Regions from separate parts of the Homo sapiens genome. Here region 2 is linked to region 1. Evidence: promoter capture Hi-C in human tissues and cell types (Jung and others, 2019). All regions are on one chromosome and are shown on one strand. The core of a region is centred on a gene start or on the middle of the fragment in contact, and the rest is flanking DNA. Distances in the headings are between cores, read along the strand shown.

Evidence for each region. Contacts are between HindIII fragments. The study calls those that stand out against the background at their distance.
Region 2: a contact is called between a fragment that was not itself captured here and the fragment with the promoter of ANXA2R in region 1, in 1 of the 25 tissues and cell types used here (stomach).

The regions. Positions count from the first base shown.
Region 1 is chr5:43,038,599-43,041,817 of GRCh38, reverse strand. It overlaps ANXA2R (annexin A2 receptor), which reads left to right and starts at 1,499. Exons shown (of 1, transcript NM_001014279.3): 1 at 1,499-2,447. The coding sequence starts at 1,772. The coding sequence ends at 2,353. The region is part of intron 2 of ANXA2R-OT1 (ANXA2R overlapping transcript 1); the gene reads left to right. RefSeq lists enhancers at 111-190, 1,846-1,895, 1,906-2,315, 2,336-2,385, 2,077-2,617 and a silencer at 1,236-1,505. The HindIII fragment of the contact is 17,645 bases long and covers 1-3,219 here.
Region 2 is chr5:42,803,127-42,806,329 of GRCh38, reverse strand. SELENOP (selenoprotein P) reads left to right here. Exons shown (of 5, transcript NM_005410.4): 4 at 1,557-1,674. Among named protein-coding and RNA genes, the nearest start is that of SELENOP, 7.2 kb to the left of the region's middle. RefSeq lists enhancers at 1,597-2,097, 2,098-2,598. The HindIII fragment of the contact is 6,382 bases long and covers 1-3,203 here.

The DNA.
Region 1 (3,219 bases), core at 250-2,749:
TTTCCAGTGGCCTCGGATTTCTAATCATAACAACCATGGGGTCAGCCTAGCCTCAAGTTTCTTAGTCCTAGCAAGTTCCGGTTTCCTACTGGTAAGACTTGCTTTAGCTGCGCAGGAAATGTTTAACTCCTGTGGAAATCTGGGTACCAGCGAATGCTTTTTTTTTTTTTTTAAAGGTTTAGCGATGACCAGTTTAGCAGTGTTGGGAGCTCTTATACCAAGTTTGGTTTCGCAATATCGAGTCCTGTCTTAGCTATGCTTGTGTGTTTTTAAAACTCCCGTGGAAGTCAGGAAATGCCGGCGATCGCGATGTCTCAGTTTTACCAAGCTCCCTTTGACAATAGCAAGTCCTGCCCATCGAGACTTTTTCCTCTTGTAGACCAAATCGGGATGTACCAGCTACTACGATTTTTTAGACGTAGCTAAACACGTTTAACCGTGGATATTTTTGTTTTTTTTCTCGTAGGAAATTATGACAGGAGCAACCTGCAGGGGTTTAGATCTGACAGAAATATTCTAATGGTAGGCATTGCATCGCTTAGCCATATTTGTAATTTCTTCTTTGTAGGGTTGGTTCTCTGTAACTTTTGCTTACCTTAAAATTATTTTTGTGTCTTGCTCTGAGGACAATGTTACCGATGTGTTTTTCATTTTTACTTGCATTTCAGACTTTCATTATTTTAAATTATGTATTTTTTTTTTCTTCTAATTTTGAGCGTCTCAGATTCGTGCTTCTTGACTTTCATTCTCTCAGGAGCCGGGGAGCCGAGCTCGGTCTTAGCCTCGCTGGTATCAGGTTCCGGGTTCTGTCTGGAGGCTCCGCTTCCTATGCAGAGCTGGCGGTTTTGTATCAGCACGTTTGCCAGTGGCGCCCACTGGGCGTTTTCTCAGTTGCTGCACCCAACGTGACATTTCCCGTTCGCGGGGTCCTTAGGTTCTCAGTGCTGTCACTTTTTCGCTCCTACAACCGCTAGTATCTCCTAGGAACTTCCTGAACCCCGTTTTGCCGTGCAGAACGGTGATTGCACCGAGCCGCTGTTCGCACTAGTAATTGTGTGGTACCATTAGCCGGCGCTTTTTCTGTCACAACCCATTAAAACGGGTTAAAACATATTAAACCTATCAAACACATTGAACGGATTAAAACACATTAAATGCCGCAACACATTTTTCTGGTACAACACATTGAAACAGAGTTGGTTCATTCCTCCAAACAGGTTGTTTAGGTGTGGAAGCACCGCTCTTAGTTCTAAGAGCATGCTGTTTCTCTTTAGCAGCACCCTTTACGGCGCCAAAACGGATATTTGTTTGGCAATACCAGCGCTATCCGCTAGGTGCCGGCGCTTGCTAAGTTCAACGCGCCAGTTTCTCGTTTGCAAGGTGGTTAGGGCAGAGCCCTAGCAGACAGTTTTCCGGTGGCAGCAACGCTCATTTCCCGGAAACGGGTGGTTCTTGGCCCTTGCGCGCTCTTGAATACCTGCGTTCTGTAGCGCTAGTTCTCTTCAAGATTTGCTTAGTGTCATTTCATTTCGGTTTCTTTTCTCGCCATGTTTTTCTGTCGGAATTACGGTTCGTTTTGGTTCTATGTACTCTCTAAAATGTTATCGTTTTTCATTTGTCTACTAATTTTCGTGCATTTGTTACTACTGAGTTTCTTAATATCTGACTGGCCTCCGCCCACGGGCTCTGCAGAGCATAAATACTCAGGCTGATGGTAGTGCAGAGACTCTCCCTCCTTGATCAGCGCAAACGTTGGTCTGAGGCTTGAGGGATGGAGCAACATTTTCTTGGCTGTGTGAAGCGGGCTTGGGATTCCGCAGAGGTGGCGCCAGAGCCCCAGCCTCCACCTATTGTGAGTTCAGAAGATCGTGGGCCGTGGCCTCTTCCTTTGTATCCAGTACTAGGAGAGTACTCACTGGACAGCTGTGATTTGGGACTGCTTTCCAGCCCTTGCTGGCGGCTGCCCGGAGTCTACTGGCAAAACGGACTCTCTCCTGGAGTCCAGAGCACCTTGGAACCAAGTACAGCGAAGCCCACTGAGTTCAGTTGGCCGGGGACACAGAAGCAGCAAGAGGCACCCGTAGAAGAGGTGGGGCAGGCAGAGGAACCCGACAGACTCAGGCTCCAGCAGCTTCCCTGGAGCAGTCCTCTCCATCCCTGGGACAGACAGCAGGACACCGAGGTCTGTGACAGCGGGTGCCTTTTGGAACGCCGCCATCCTCCTGCCCTCCAGCCGTGGCGCCACCTCCCGGGTTTCTCAGACTGCCTGGAGTGGATTCTTCGCGTTGGTTTTGCCGCGTTCTCTGTACTCTGGGCGTGCTGTTCACGGATCTGTGGAGCTAAGCAGCCTTAGATAGCAGCAGAAGGCTTTTTGGATTCTCCTCCTTGAAAAGATTCTCAGTTACCAAACGTCTCCACCTAGAAAATAAAAATACATTAAGATGTGCTTTCATTGCTGGTTGTCAGTTTTTAAATTCTCTTTTTCCCTTATGTTTCTTTCTTGTTTCGCGTCGCTTATTACTTTCAGTTTCCTTGTATTTTAAATATTTGTATTTATTTCATTAAATATTTCATTCGTATCTGTTTTCACTTTGAGAAATCTATTTTACGATTGTAGAATTCTTAGAGTTTTTGGCAAATTTAAAATTTGTTTTTTTCCATTGTATTTTAAAATCTTATTCCTACTATTTTTCTAATTATTGCTTTTTAAATGTATTGTTTGTTTACATTTAATTTTATATCATGTCTTTTACGTTATTATAACGTCTTTTTAATTTTAATTGTTAATTTTATTTTTAACAGCGGTCTTTCTTTTTTTCAGTATATCGATTCATTGTTTTACACTCAGGAATTTTATTCACGATCATAAGACTGAGAGGTTTATCAATCTTTGCTATTTCTCGTGGAAGGACCACGCAATTACTTATATTAATACAACTTCACAGATGACCAGTTCTTAAGATTACTTATTCTGGCGGGGCAGCGTGGCTCACGGCAGTAATCCCAGCACTTTCAGCAGCGGAGGCATGCGGATTGCTTGAGCTCAGGAGTTTGAGAAAAGCCTGGGCGACAGGGTGAGGCCTGTGTCTACAAAAAATGCAAAAGTTAGCCCTGTGAGATGGTGTGCACCTGTAGTCCCAGCTGCTCCGGAGGCTGGGGTGGGCGGGTTGCTTGAGCTCAGGAGGTCGAGGCTGCGGTGAGCCGGATAGCACCAACGCC
Region 2 (3,203 bases), core at 147-2,646, 240 kb after region 1:
CTTTCACTTTTGTGTGATTTTTATATACAACCTATTGGAGGCAGATGCAGCCAACCACTAGGGCATATAATCCTATAATTTTCAGACCCTGCACTCCCAGTCATCATCCACTATTTTGCAGGACATCACAAAAACCATCAGGTATGGCAGCCTTGCTGCCATCCACCCCTTCACAAAACTGTGTGACAGGAATGTATTACTTACTCCTTCCACCACACTTCCCACCTCAGTCAGTAATCAAATTCTATGGGTTCTTAATCCTGAGTATATTTATCTCATATCCGTAATTATTATCTCAAGTTACTTCCTGGTGACCACTCCTCTAGATTTTTCCACTAATCTCTTCACTTGATTTCTTCTTGTTTTGTATTTAATAGTAAGTGATTTAAAATAATATATTTGCTTTTGATTATTGCCAAATAGTTTATAAACTCTTTATTCACATTTATTTTTTTGAAATGACTTTGATTTTTGAAATGACTTTTTAAAAAGTAAGGCATGTAAAAGAGTTCACCATTCCAAGAGGAAAATACAGAAAATTGATTATCCCCATAAATTGGCATTTCGGTTAAATAAAAAGAATGACCAATTTGTATATCCTGTACAATTCTAACCTAATTCTTTTGCAAATGAATAACCATATCTTCTAATTAATTTTAATCTAAATAATAATTTTAAGGCTACATACCTGAATTTCTGAACTGTAAAGTGAGTTAATCATTTAAGCATGATCTGCACAAATCTACTTTTGATTCTATGAACAAATAAAACATTTATATTTTGAGGGAATCTCAATTCATGCATTATGCCATTATAAACATTCTTAGTTGGTGCTTTGTTTTTTTTGACTCTCCGGAGTCTGGTGAGCCCTACTTGGTCTTACACTAAATTTTTAAAAATTCACATTTCATTCTTTTAGGCCTTTAAACTTCTAATTTTTAGGATAACCTAAAAGTATAACCCTTTGATAGTCACATAAAACCATATATACTAGGTAAAATGTAGGCAAGAAGAACATTTTAACCCCACCATTTCTGACAATGCCACATGTTCTAATACTTTCATTGTGCTGAAATTTTCATTGCATTAGATACATTTTTAAATAAATGGGCTACTGGCCAAGGCTTGGAGATGTTTTTGTTATGTGATGATTTCTTGTTGTGTCAAATTTGTGCTGCCTTAGCAGTTATGACAAGCTCAAGTGATTTTCAGAGCCTAATTTATAAGTTAGCGGTTTGGGCACTGGTAGAATTTATAAGTCAGTCACAAAATTGTATTTTACCAAGTCACAGTGATGACATTTTTGATATTATATAGTGACATATCTATAACATTTCAAAATACTAGTATTAGACTAATTATAGTGTTGCTATGACCTGACCTGGTGTGCAGTACCTGGGAGCTCATTTGTAGCTCTCATCCAAAGAAATTTAGTAAAGGCGTGAAAGGGTCTTAGTTATGACCATTAAACCTATAATACCTATCCCAGACTGTATTTGAGTAGGATCGTGATACAGAAAATATTATAGTGACATTGTATTTGTCCTTTTTCTTAGATGTGGCCGTCTTGTATATCATCTTGGTTTGCCTTTTTCCTTCCTAACTTTCCCATATGTAGAAGAAGCCATTAAGATTGCTTACTGTGAAAAGAAATGTGGAAACTGCTCTCTCACGGTATTTTTCTGAATTATTTTTCTGGGGAGAAAAGAGGAAATCTTTTAAGAGTTTATCATGAAACACTTATTTAGAAAACTCAATGCTTTTGCAGGTGTACTAAAAATAAATAACAATAATTTTTACAATTAAACAAACATCCTGTCATCTAACCTCTACTTTATTTATTTATTTATTACTATTACTATTATTTTTGAGACGGAGTCTGTCTCTGTCGCCGAGGCTGGAGTGCAGTGGCGCGATCTCGGCTCACTGCAAGCTCCGCCTCCCGGGTTCACGCCATTCTCCTGCCTCAGTCTCCCGAGTAGCTAGGACTACAGGCGTCCGCCACTACTCCCAGCTAATTTTTTGTATTTTTAGTAGAGACGGGGTTTCACTGTGTTAGCCAGGATGGTCTCGATCTCCAGCCCTTGTGATACGCCCGCCTCGGCCTCCCAAAGTGCTGGGATTACAGGCGTGAGCCACCGCGCCCGGCCTAACCTCTAGTTTAAAACATCTTTTGAAGATCGATGTTGCTGCCTTTATCTAGAAGAGCTTTAGAAATTAAAAATCAATGTATCGTATTTCAGTTACCACCAAATGACGTTGCATGGGCATAAGTGCTCAAAAAATTTAGTCAACACAAAAAAGCAATGTTATTGTAGTAACCTGAACATGTTAGCACAAGAACATAAAAATAGCAAAGCTTACCCACAGCATTACTTGGAATGGAACTGGGGCCAGAAACTACTTAATTTATTGAAGATGCAAGGCTATCAGATTTTTCCTGAAGCCCTTCCACTGCCTGCCCATCTGCAGTCTGAGTTTACTTCAAAATGGAGTAAGTTTTCTACTCATTACTGGTATTTATTTCCTAACAACCATGAAAATATTTCTTCTTTGTTATGAGAAGAACTATATTTAAATCTTTTTTAAATAAAAAAGGCACTCAAAGAATTTAATTTGTATTAACTAGACTTGTTTTCCTTCATAACAAAAAGGAAAATAATTCTAAACAATGTTCCATTGAGAAGTCAGATTGGGAAAATTTGAACTTAGGTTTAAAAACAATTCACAATTTTATCTGTAAGTTGTATTTCCTTCAGATTTTCCCCAGGTCTAAAGAAAGCCGCCTCAAATTTTTAACGAATTTAATTAATTAATTTAGTTGTTAAGGAGTATAAGTTACTTACTCTAGTTATGTAATTTTCACATTTTAATCTTTATAATGATCTTTTGAGGGTTATTTTACTATTTTTAAAGATGAGGAGACTGAGGTAATGGAAGAAAATACTAAGAGTAATGAAAGAAAAGTACTAACTCAACCTATACTAAGCATTTAATAAATACTAATTATAATGATTCCTCATATTTTGGGATTATTTCTGCATTTCTCATTTGTGCAAATGCTTGCTAGTTATAAATATACCCAGTTATATTGAAAAAGGCAGTTAATAGTTACCACAATATGCTTAAAATGTGTGAATCATCTGTAAATACAAATTACAGATCAGACACTATTAGTATCTGATATGCCAAATCCGATTGGA